4 separate regions of the Homo sapiens genome follow, and all the other regions are linked to region 4. Evidence: promoter capture Hi-C in 16 types of primary human blood cells and fetal thymus (Javierre and others, 2016). All regions are on one chromosome and are shown on one strand. Each heading gives the region's core, a stretch centred on a gene start or on the middle of the fragment in contact. The rest is flanking DNA. Distances are from core to core; before and after follow the strand shown.

Evidence for each region. Contacts are between HindIII fragments. The CHiCAGO score rates a contact against its expected background, and 5 or more counts as called.
Region 1: a contact is called between a fragment that was not itself captured here and the fragment with the promoter of RWDD3 in region 4, in 1 of 17 cell types (non-activated CD4 T cells). The highest score is 5.6, in non-activated CD4 T cells.
Region 2: a fragment that was not itself captured here is called in contact with the fragment with the promoter of RWDD3 in region 4 in 4 of 17 cell types (non-activated CD4 T cells, total CD4 T cells, naive CD8 T cells and 1 more); the score reaches 8.7 in non-activated CD4 T cells.
Region 3: a contact is called between a fragment that was not itself captured here and the fragment with the promoter of RWDD3 in region 4, in 1 of 17 cell types (naive CD8 T cells). The highest score is 5.0, in naive CD8 T cells.

Annotation. Positions count from the first base shown.
Region 1 is chr1:93,341,143-93,343,842 of GRCh38, reverse strand. The region is part of intron 1 of CCDC18-AS1 (CCDC18 antisense RNA 1); the gene reads left to right. Among named protein-coding and RNA genes, the nearest start is that of CCDC18-AS1, 3.3 kb to the left of the region's middle. The HindIII fragment of the contact is 1,219 bases long and covers 652-1,870 here.
Region 2 is chr1:93,873,474-93,876,173 of GRCh38, reverse strand. It overlaps DNTTIP2 (deoxynucleotidyltransferase terminal interacting protein 2), which reads left to right. Exons shown (of 7, transcript NM_014597.5): 3 at 391-529. Among named protein-coding and RNA genes, the nearest start is that of DNTTIP2, 4.4 kb to the left of the region's middle. The HindIII fragment of the contact is 7,821 bases long and covers 1-2,700 here.
Region 3 is chr1:96,707,987-96,710,686 of GRCh38, reverse strand. No RefSeq gene overlaps it. Among named protein-coding and RNA genes, the nearest start is that of PTBP2, 12 kb to the left of the region's middle. The HindIII fragment of the contact is 8,514 bases long and covers 1-2,700 here.
Region 4 is chr1:95,232,955-95,235,654 of GRCh38, reverse strand. RWDD3 (RWD domain containing 3) reads right to left here and starts at 1,445. Exons shown (of 4, transcript NM_015485.5): 1 at 1,340-1,445. The coding sequence starts at 1,424. All of the region lies in intron 7 of TLCD4-RWDD3 (TLCD4-RWDD3 readthrough), which reads right to left. RWDD3-DT (RWDD3 divergent transcript) reads left to right here and starts at 1,673. Exons shown (of 4, transcript NR_125949.1): 1 at 1,673-1,955. RefSeq lists silencers at 985-1,164, 1,375-1,704. The HindIII fragment of the contact is 4,366 bases long and covers 1-2,450 here.

The DNA.
Region 1 (2,700 bases), core at 12-2,511, 1.9 Mb after region 4:
GCCTAAATTTATCTTGACCTTAACAAGTTTATCCGTCTGAAAAAGCTGGCTGGCAAAAAATGTCCCAAGTTGTCACAGTGTCACTGACCCTTATCTTGTCTCTCCTGAAAAAACTATAACTTTGCTTTTTCATGTAACATTTATGTTTATAGACTTATGCTAAATAGACGAGTAGAGCACACATTATTTCAGTAATAGTTTATTGCTACAGGCTTCTGTGGTAGCATAAACAGAATTGAATGTGTAGTAAGAGTTGTAGGTTCCAGTCCCAGCTTTTTTTTTTACTTAGACAAGTCACTCTCCAAGCCTCATTTTCTTCAGTTCAGATATAGAAATATTATGTAACACACAGGATTCAAAATCAAATGAGAGTTGTGTGAAAGTACTTTTTATAGTATGAAGTGTTATATAATGTTAGTGTCTTTTATCATCTTTATCAGGCTTGGTCAGTCTTCAACTAGTAATGAACCATGTAACTAGTTTATTACATACGTGGCTGAGAGAAATTTAATTGGATATAAATACCAGTGTGATATGTCATAAAATATGCTAATCTGTAGCCCATATTTAAATAGTTATTTATAGTACACTACATGTATCTGTATTATAAATAGGCTTTTAAGGACAAAGAGAACATCTCCTTATTAAGCTTTAAGAGTTTCAGAGAGAATGCATATATATGAAACTTTTTTTTTTCATGTTGTCTAGGTGTGGTAGTGCACACCTGTGATCCTACCTACTTGGGAGGCTGAGGTGGCAGGATCACTTGAGCCCAGGAGGCTGAGGCTGCAGTGAGCCATGACACTACTACACTCCAGCCTAGGTGACAGAGTGAGACCCTGCCTCAAGAAAAGGAAAAAAAAAGTTTAGCCTCAGAGTAGGGTTAGGGGAGTGTCACTGTCAAAAACAGTGGAGTTGAAAGGGAGCTGTTTAGAGAAGATGTGCTTGCTTTTGCACATGTTTGGGCAGGCATTTGTAGAAGTGGTGTCCTATAGAAAGTGGAAAGAGAAGACAGCATCTGATTTCTACATTCATTCAATAACTGTCTAGTGTCCTGACTATGATGTGGGAGAAATAAAGATGAATATAACTCCCACCTTGTTCTTGAAGACCCTATAATCTGGTGGGAGAAGCAGAATATAAACCAGATTCAAATAAATATTGTGATAAAATATACAGGCTAAGAATGCATGGGAAGAAGTGATTAACACACTAGTTGTGGAGTACAAAGGGTTTTATGGAGGACTGGATATTTTAACTGCACCTTGAAGATTGAGTACAATTTTGATAGGGAAGGAAAGAGCATGTAGCTGAAGAAAAAACACAAAAGTACATTGTATGGCTTGGGGAAATAAAGTAGTCTAGAGTGGCTCTATTAATAAGGTTTGTAAAGAGGTGTAGTGGTATATGATGCAGGAAAAGTAGGTTAGGGCAAAAAGAAAACAGATCAGTGCCTGATATGAATTATACACTGGGCCAAAAGTTTTTCATATTTGCTATTTCATTTAATTTCCATATAGCCATGCAAAATAGGTGTTTTGACATGGGGGGAAAACAGTCTCAGAGAGTTTTACTAATTTGTTCAAAGTCTCACAGATAATAAGTAATGGAGCTGAAATTTCAAACCAGGTTGTTACTTAACTCCAAAGCTGAAGCTATTTGTAATTTGGTAACTATCTCTAAATTAAAAAAAAAAAGGAAAAAAGGTTATATTCATTATAGGACTTTAAAAATATAAAGCACTTTCACATGTATTTGGTCTTTATAACTAGTCATTAATCCCAATTGATGGATGGGAAAATTGAAGCCCAGTGAGATTATTCAAGGTCACAGAGTGAATAAGTGGCAGATTGGAAATGCAACCCAAGCTTTCTGACTACAAAGTCTCAAGTCTTTCCACATCATTTTAAGAAGTCTGGAGATCCTTTTGTAAGCAGTGGAAAGAGTTAGTGAACATTTTTGAGAAGGGGGATGACATAAACAATAATGTTTAAAAAGATTAGTTTGAGTTCGCATGTGAGATGGTCTGGAATGGACAGAGACAAGAACATTAATTATTAAGCTATTGTAAAAATAGTAATGATGTAGACCTGAACAAAGAAAGTTTGGTGATAATAAGATAAAAGAAACAAATTAGAGGCATTTGGAAACAGAATTTACAGGATTTAGCTTCTGCCTGCATCTACCGTGAGATACGAGGACCGTGCCTAAATAATAATGGAGGTGGGGACAATGATGGTAAGAAGAGGTAGATTTGGATGGAGAGAAAGAAATAGCTATCCAAATGGATGTATCCAGTGAGAGTTGGACAGCGGAGATGTGGGATCATATAGTAGGGCTATGTAACAAGTCCCTCTATAGCAGGGTTTGTTTAAGCTAGACTGTAAGTACCCAGAGCCAGTGAGGGTCTGGTTTATTTCTGCATCCCCAGAGCCAGGACAGTCCTTGGCACTCAATAAATATTTGTTAACTTTGAAACTGGATAAAGACCTTTAAGGATGGTAGAATTTTTTGAAAAATGTTCAAAGACAGAAAGCAAAAAGAAGAAAATATTTGAGGAAAGATTTGATAGAAACCAAGAAGCATTATGTAAAGGAAGTCGTGGGGAGAGAGTTACAAGAGTGTGAGATGCCACAGAGAGGCATTGTTGGAAGGGGATCAAAGATAGTGTTACTGAAGTAAAAGTTCAGGAAGAGAGAT
Region 2 (2,700 bases), core at 121-2,620, 1.4 Mb after region 4:
AAAATCACTGCCTTGGGTTCTTCATGGAATGGCTCATTCATTTGACATTATGGAGCCAGGTGTTGGGTGTGCACCTGTAGTCCCAGCCACCCAGGGAGGTTGAGGTAGGAGGATCACTTGAGTCCCAAGAGTTCAAGGCTGCAGTGGTCACTACTGCACTCCATCCTGGGCCAACAGTGAGACCCTGTCTCAAAAAATAAAATAAAATGATGAAAAATATATTTATTTAGAGTTTTTTTTCAGGAATTCCTCATAAAAATAAGATGCTTTTTTTTCTTTATTGTGGACAATACAAGGGAAGAGAAGAATAAGTGATTTTTTAAAATGCCATCTTATATGTTTCCATTTTGATTTAATTACTTGATCTTTAAGTGATGATTTCTTTTTCAGTCTGAAGTTGACAAGCAGCAGCATAGACCCTGGTCTGAGTATCAAGCAGTTGGGTGGTTTGTATATTAATTTTAATGCAGATAAACTACAGTCTAACAAGAGAACCCTAACACAGATCAAGGAGAAAAAGAAAAATGAGGTAAGTTAATTGTGCTGTTAGGTTTTCACAGAACTAACCAATCACTTTTAGAAATTAGTCCTTGGTAAAAGACTTAATTTTCCTACAGTGAAACCACATTGGCCTAATGTGTTAGTTTTTTCCTTCTCTCTAAAACAGTCATTTCTTTTTACAATAAAATCCTATCTATGAATGATAATGCTTTAAAAATAAATCAATACAGGGTCAGTGTTCCTCATCTTACACCCACCAATTATGATCCCAGGGGTTTTGTTTTTTTCCCTTTTCTTGCTATACTTTTAGTTCTTAAGTTCTTAACTAGTGTAGACTGTTGAGAATCTGAAAGCTGTGAATGCCTGCCTGCCTCTTCCACCCGGAAAAAAATGCACATGTGCATATAGACATTTTACATATAATTTCAGAAGGAATTACTGTTAAGGTAACTTTACCCAAACCCTTAGCTTTAGCCAACACCTTGCACTGTTTTCTCCTAAATCTATATTTTCTAGCCTTGATGCTTCTCACTGTCACTTTCAGACCTTTAAATCCAAGTACCTATTTGTTCATTTAGATGTCCTCAGGTACTTGACGTCACTAATTCCCCTTTCCCTGCCTGAACCAGGAATCCTCTTCTTGTATTCTTTTTTCTGGCTAATGAAACCAAACTCTCTTTTCCTTTTGTAGTCAGTCACCAAGCCTCTAGGGGAAGATATTTCTCTGCTTCCTCCTTTTCAAGCGACTGTCACCAGCTAGTGCAGGCCTTTGCTTCTCATCTGGACTACTCCAGTGGCTTCCTTATTGATCTTGTTTTCATCTTGTTCTTCAAGCCATCCTCCACACTTCTAGATTTCTCTGTCTAAAAACACAAATCCGGCTGGGCAAGGTAGCTCACATCTATAATCCCAGCACTTTGGGAGGCTGAGGCAGGAGAATTGTTTAAGCCCAGGAGTTTGAGACCAACCTGGGCAACATAGCTAGACCACATCTCTCCTCCCTGCCCCAAAAAACACACCACACACACAGATGTGACAGTATTCTCTTGAATCCTTCAAAGTACCTCTCTACCCCACCCAGCTGTCATCTGCTCTATTCTTGCCACTGAAGACTACTGTAGTTGCCTGAACTTACCCTGCTTTTCCCCAAGCAAGTGCAAAATAATTGATCGTTGCCCTTGGGGAATATTTTACCTCCAGTCCTTCTCACAACCCCTCTGTTTCCATAACATCTAGCATAGATCTGATTCATTGTTGATCATGTGATATATTAACTTACCATCTTTTCTTTATATTCCTAAAACAGGGTTTTTCAGTCTCAGCACTACTGATGTTTTGGGCTGCATAATTTTGTTGTGAGATGTTCCGTGCATAGTAGGATGTTTAACAGCATCCCTATCTTTTGCCCACTAGATGTCAGTAGCATTCTTCCTTATCCTCACCACCACCAAAAATGTCTCCAGACATTGCCAGATGCTCCCAGTTGAGAACCACTGTCCTTGAATGTACTACAGTACTTGACTCACAGCAAACTCTTAATCATTTGTTAAGTAAATATCATGCCCCCTTTTATGAGTGATAGGAAAGCCTAGACGGCTACCTATACCACACAGAAACATCTAGGCCTGAACCTGAATTGTGTGCCTGACTGTTAATTTCTGAGTTGATCATTTCAAATGTCAGTCCCAAATTAATGCTTGTACTATATTCCTGTAAACTATTTTGAGGGCTACAGAGCAGTCTTACTTGGTTCTTGTACTGAGAAAAATACTAATTAACCTGAGGTTCCTTTAGTCACACAGAGTTTTAGGAGAATATAATCATCCTAGTCAAGTAACAAAAGTACAGAAATCATTTAGGAAAAGATAAACAGATTTGACTGCACAAATTTATTTATTTATTTTGGAGAAATGGCGTTTTCTTATGTTACCCAGGCTAGTCTTGAACTCCTGGCCTCAAGTGATTGTCCTGCCTTGGCCTCCTAAAGAGTTGGGATTATAGGCATGAGCCATCGTGCCTGGCCTTTTTTTTCTTTTTTCTTTTTTTTTTTGGGAGGGAGCTGGGTTTGGGGGGAGACAGGGTCTCACTCTGTCACCCAGGCTGGAGTGAGTGGCACAGTCATAGCTTGCTGCAGCCTCAAGCTCCTGGCCTCAAGTGATCCTTCTGCCTTAGCGTCCTGAGTAGCTGGGACTACAGGTG
Region 3 (2,700 bases), core at 70-2,569, 1.5 Mb before region 4:
CGGGCGGATCATAAGCTCATGAGTTAGAGACCAGCCTGGCCAACATGGCAAAATCCCATCTCAACTAAAGATACAAAAATTAGCCGGGCCTGGTGGCGGGCGCCTGTAGTCCCAGCTACTCGGGAGGCTGAGGCAGGAGAATCACTTGAACCCGGGAGGCAGAGGTTGCAGTGAGCCAAGATAGTGCCACTGCACTCCAGCCTGGATGACAGAGGAGTGAGAATCCATCTCAAAAAAAAAAAAAAAAAAATTTCGATGTGGCCACTTACGAGGTATCGGCTTAGTCCATAAAAAAATCCTTTTTCTGTATGAATCTCTTTCCTAATTCCTTGACCCTCTTCAAACAGATGGGCTTTCAACAGCCATATTTGTTCTGTGTGAGCCCAGTCTTTTAGGCCATAGCTGATTAGATCAGGAATGGGCCGCTTATCAAAGTGTGCCAGTCAGATTCTTCCACACGGAAGTTAAGAAATAAGAGAAAAGACTCTGTTGGCCCTCTTTTTTCATTAGAAATGTAACGTCAACTCAGAAATAGTGGATAGCCAGTTTCTACAATGTGGGCTAAGAGGAGAGATAACTGATCTAAAGAAGGGAAAAAAGAATGAAGCTGATGTAGAGAGAACAAAACTAAGTGACAGAGACTATATCTACAATGGCTTTCCAGTTCCTAGTTCCAGTATTTCCTAAGATCCAAAGCTAATCTTTCCCTTGAGTCTCTCTCTCTCTTTGTCTCTGTCTCTGTCCGTGTGTGTCTCTCTCTTTTCTTTAAGCCAGTCAAGTTATTTCTATGACTTGCAACCAGATTCATAACCAATAAAACTTTTATTTTGCTTTTAACCTCTTTTTATCTGTATTTAAGTATCTGAGTTAATCAATGAAATCTATCACTTATATAAAAAAGTAAAAATAAGATTCTCTCTACACATTAATTGTAATTGCATACACTGTGAATTAATTGAAAACAATGAAGCCAGGTGCAGTGGCTCACACCTGTAATCCTAGCACTTTGGGAGGCCAAGGCAGGCAGATCACCTGAGGTCGGGAGTTTGAGACCAGACTGACCAACATGGAGAAACCCCGTCTCTACTAAAAATACATAATTAGCCAGGCGTGGTGGTGTGTACCTGTAGTTCCAGCTACTTGGGAGGCTGAGGCAGGAGAATTGCTTGAACCTGGGGCAGGGCGGAGGTTGCGGTGAGCTGAGATGGCACTATTGCACTCCAGCATGGGCAACAAGAGCGAAACTCCATCTCAAAAAAAAAAAAAGAAAACAATGTCATATGACATTTTTTGCAATGCATTACTTGCTTTACCATCACTACCATCACACTCATAGCTGACAAGAAGTTCTAAAAAAATTACGATAGCAGTTCTACGATGCTGAGTATTTTAGGGCTGCACGAAAGTACTATATCTTTCTATTTGGGTATTACGAAACCATTATTATGTCCTACTCACTTTGAGAAGTATTAGTATTTTTGATTCCTAGCCTTTCTCTAGGCTGTTTTATGTTCTTTCAGGTTTAGATGGTGGTATTGTGAACACGATAAAACCAAAGTTACAGATCAAAGGAGGAGGCTAAACATTTTTGAAAAGTAGAAATGGCACATAAGTTCAGGGATAGGGAAGAAAGGCTTTTTTCTTTGACATTGTTTGCAAATAAGAAAAGCAGTAACTATCAAGTTTACTTCAAGTTTTGGGGTATGGGAGTTTATAAGGATTTATAAGGAAACAAGCACAATCATTTGACCAGGACTCCACCATGTGAATTGGGCTCATAGAAGTCAGATCTAAATCCTGACAAGATGATTTTGCCTTTACTAATCTCCCCTTCTTCAGTGCACTGGAACAAAAACACTGGTGTGCCGGCAAAAGTTTAAGAAACGGCTCTTTGGCAGAGAAGCACTGCTTCATTGTGTCTGCTGATTTGCTTAATGTAAGTACTCCCACTATGGCCAATTTCAAGCTACAAATATGATAAACACAGAGTTGGGAAGAGATGCACATAATTAGTCCTCACGGGCCAGTACTAGCTGGCTCTAGCACACTGCTCATACAGGCCACCTTGTTATATCTAGAACATGCTGTCAAGCAGATCAGCCTCCGGCTCTACTTTTTGCCTTGAATGCCCATCTCCCACATCTTTGCAGTTTTCTCTCTTATTTCATTTAAGTATTGCTCAGAAGTGACCCCCTCAGAGAGGCCTTTCCTGATGGTTATATTTAAAATCATAACTATCCCATCACTCTCTATCCCCTTCTGTATTTTAGTTTTCTTCTTAGGGATAATCAGCCTAACATTACATTGTCTATGTTTAGTTGATTATTATTTGTCTCACCTCCCATCTCTTAAAACGCAAACTACATAAGAGCAGTGACTGCATATTCTGTTTTTTGCTGCTCTTCCCATATCTAGAACAATTTCTGGCACAAAGTAAATAGCCAATAAATAATTATGGAATGAATTAATAAGTGGGCTTTGTTAAATTATCCAGTGGTGGCCGGGTACGGTGGCTCATGCCTGTAATCCCAGCACTTTGGGAGGCCAAGGTGGGTGGATCACGAGGTCAGGAGTTCGAGACCAGCCTGATCAACATGGTGAAACCCCGTCTCTACTAAAAATACAAAAATTAGCTGGGCATGGTGGCATGCGCCTGTAATCCCAGCTATTCAGGATGCTGAGGCAGGAGAATTGCTTGAA
Region 4 (2,700 bases), core at 196-2,695:
AGGCACCTGTGGCTCACGCCTGTAATCCCAGCACCTTGGGAGGCCGAGACGCGCGGATCACGAGGTCAGGAGATTGAGACCAGCCTGGCCAACATGGTGAAACCCCGTCTCTACTAAAAATACAAAAAATTAGCCAGTCATGGTGGCAGGCGCCTGTAGTGCCAGCTACTCGGGAGGCTGAGGCAGGAGAATGGTGTGAACCCAGGAGGTGGAGCTTGCAGTGAGCCGAGATCGCGCCACTGCACTCCAGCCTGGGGGACAGAACAAGACTCTGTCTCAAAAAAAAAAAAAAAAAAAAAAAAAGGCCGGGCGCAGTGGCTCACGCCTGTAATCCCAGCACTTTCGGAGGCCGAGGCGGGCGGACCACGAGGTCCGGAGATCGAGACCATCCTGGCTAACACGGTGAAACCCTGTCTCTACTAAAAAAAAAAATACAAAAAATTAGCCGGGCGTGGTGGTGGGCGCCTGTAGTCCCAGCTACTCGGGAGGCTGAGGCAGGAGAATGGCGTGAACCCGGGAGGCGGAGGTTGCAGTGACCCGAGATCGCGCCACTGCACTCCAGCCTAGGCGACAAAGCAAGACTCCGTCTTAAAAAATAAAAAATAAATAAAATAAAATAAATAAAATTCAGCCAGGCATGGTGGCACGCGCCTGTGATCCCAGCTACTCGGGAGGCGGAGGCTGCAGTGAGTCCAGATGGATCCACTGCACTCCAGCCAGGGCAACAAGAGAGACTCCACCTAAAAAAAAAAAAGTATCAGAAAAGCAATCAACTTGGAAATAGAATGCAGATAAAGTTGAGGTTGAGCACTGGATAAATGAAAAAGTTCAGTCAACAAACATTTACCTACTACCTACCAGGTGCCTGGAGTCATTACCAAACAGACCCTGCCCTCCTGCAACTTAAGACCTACAAATACCCGTGTAGAGTTAGAACCGGGGAGTGCTCTCGGGGGGGCCTAGGGCATAGTGCTTAGGAAGGACACAGAACAACGAGGGGGCGTCAGCACAGGCTTCTTTATAGGGTGAGATCTGAGGGGTGGGAGGCTGGGGGAGGGCCTGGGGGTGCGCACGCAGGGGCCCCCGGCTCCGGGAGCGGGACCGGCGGCAGAGGCCCCAGTGGGCCGCGCCGCTCTCTTAGTGTTTCTGGGGTCGCCTCACACTCCCGCCCGCTGCGACACCACTCCGGCCTCCGGGCGTGTCATTCCATCATTCAACTAACCCGGTCCCCATACGTGGGCCCAGGCGGGGTGCCCAGGCTCCGTGGTGGGGAGGAGACGCAAAGCGAACGCGGGTGGCCCCTGAGGGCGCCCTGTCCCTCCCGCGCGCGGGTAGTCACCTGAGCGGCTCAGCACCTCCCACTCGTGGGGCCTGCAGAAAATCGCGGCCAGGACCGAGAGCTCCTCCTGCACAGGCTCCGCCATGGCTGTGGGCCCCACCGCCTCAGCGCTTCCCCTTCCGCTGCCGCAGCCGCCGCCTCCACCGGCCAGGAGCAGCACTGCCCGCGGCCACCCGGGGGCGCCCCGCGCCTCCGCAACCGGGCGGGACGGGGGCGGGGCGAGACGGAGCTGGGGCGAAGCGAAACGGGACGTGGGCGAGGCGAGTCCGGGCGAGGGTCAGGGCAGACGGGGCGGGCGGGGCCCTTAGAAGTTCCGCCCAGAAGCTCCTGCTCAGTAACTACAGACGCGAAGCTCAGCCTCTCGGTTTGGGAATTTTCTTGGAGGCCGAGGCCCTGCGCCTCTGTCTGCACCCAAGGCGACCGCCCAGCTTACCCCCGGCTCTTCTGAGCACAGGGAGGCCTCCCAGCAAAGCCTGAACCCTCTAAGTTTAGCTGCAGGCTTCGAACCCCGACCGTCCCCGCCGAGCCTTGGGCTGCTGAGGTGGGGATGAACTGGGCGAAAGACACTTGGGAGTTAGGAAGAAACAAACAAGCAGGGAAGTGACCAGGAGACAAGGTGAGACTTTGCCCGGCTCAGGTCTGAACTGAGTGTTGGAGATAACCACAGTTAACAAAATAAACAAAATTATTCGCCCCCGTGGAGCTGTTAGCAACCCTGGTGCCTGGGAAGCCTGGAAGAGGCTCGGGTTAGTAACAACCTCCAGGATGCCCTCCGAACTGGTACTGGCGCCGGGACTCTAGACAAGGTCCAGATTCCCGGGCCCTTCCCCTTACGGGTGCAAAAAGGGAGGGTCAGGACCTGCCAGTCCTGGCTTCAGGATGTTGACTGGACGGACCTGGACTCATGGGAACTGTGCGCCAAAGTCCTGGGAGCAAAGTGTCATAACGCTCCTCGTTTGTCTCTTGCCTTCACAGGAGACAGCCCTGCTGCAAGCGGCCAGTGGGAATCCTTGGCCTTTGGGGGTATGATCCAAGAATGTAAACGCTAGCTTTTCAGTGTTTTCGATTTCGTGATATTCAATGCATACAATACAATGTGACTCTTGAAGCTTAATAATAAAATTATCATTCTTGAGCCCAGCACCTAAATTTTAAAATGTGAGCAATACCAATAGGGTAACAGAATAAGCAATCCATTCTGTTTTGACTATAGTGAACAAGATTACAAGACTTATCTGCAGTTAGGTCTGTCTCTCGGATGTTTGCCTGGTCTTTTTGCTGTTCAAATAACAGTTTAAAATTTGGCAGTCCCCACAAGCAGCTGGTCTTGCTCATGGAGTTCTCACAACTTTTGTTTGTAT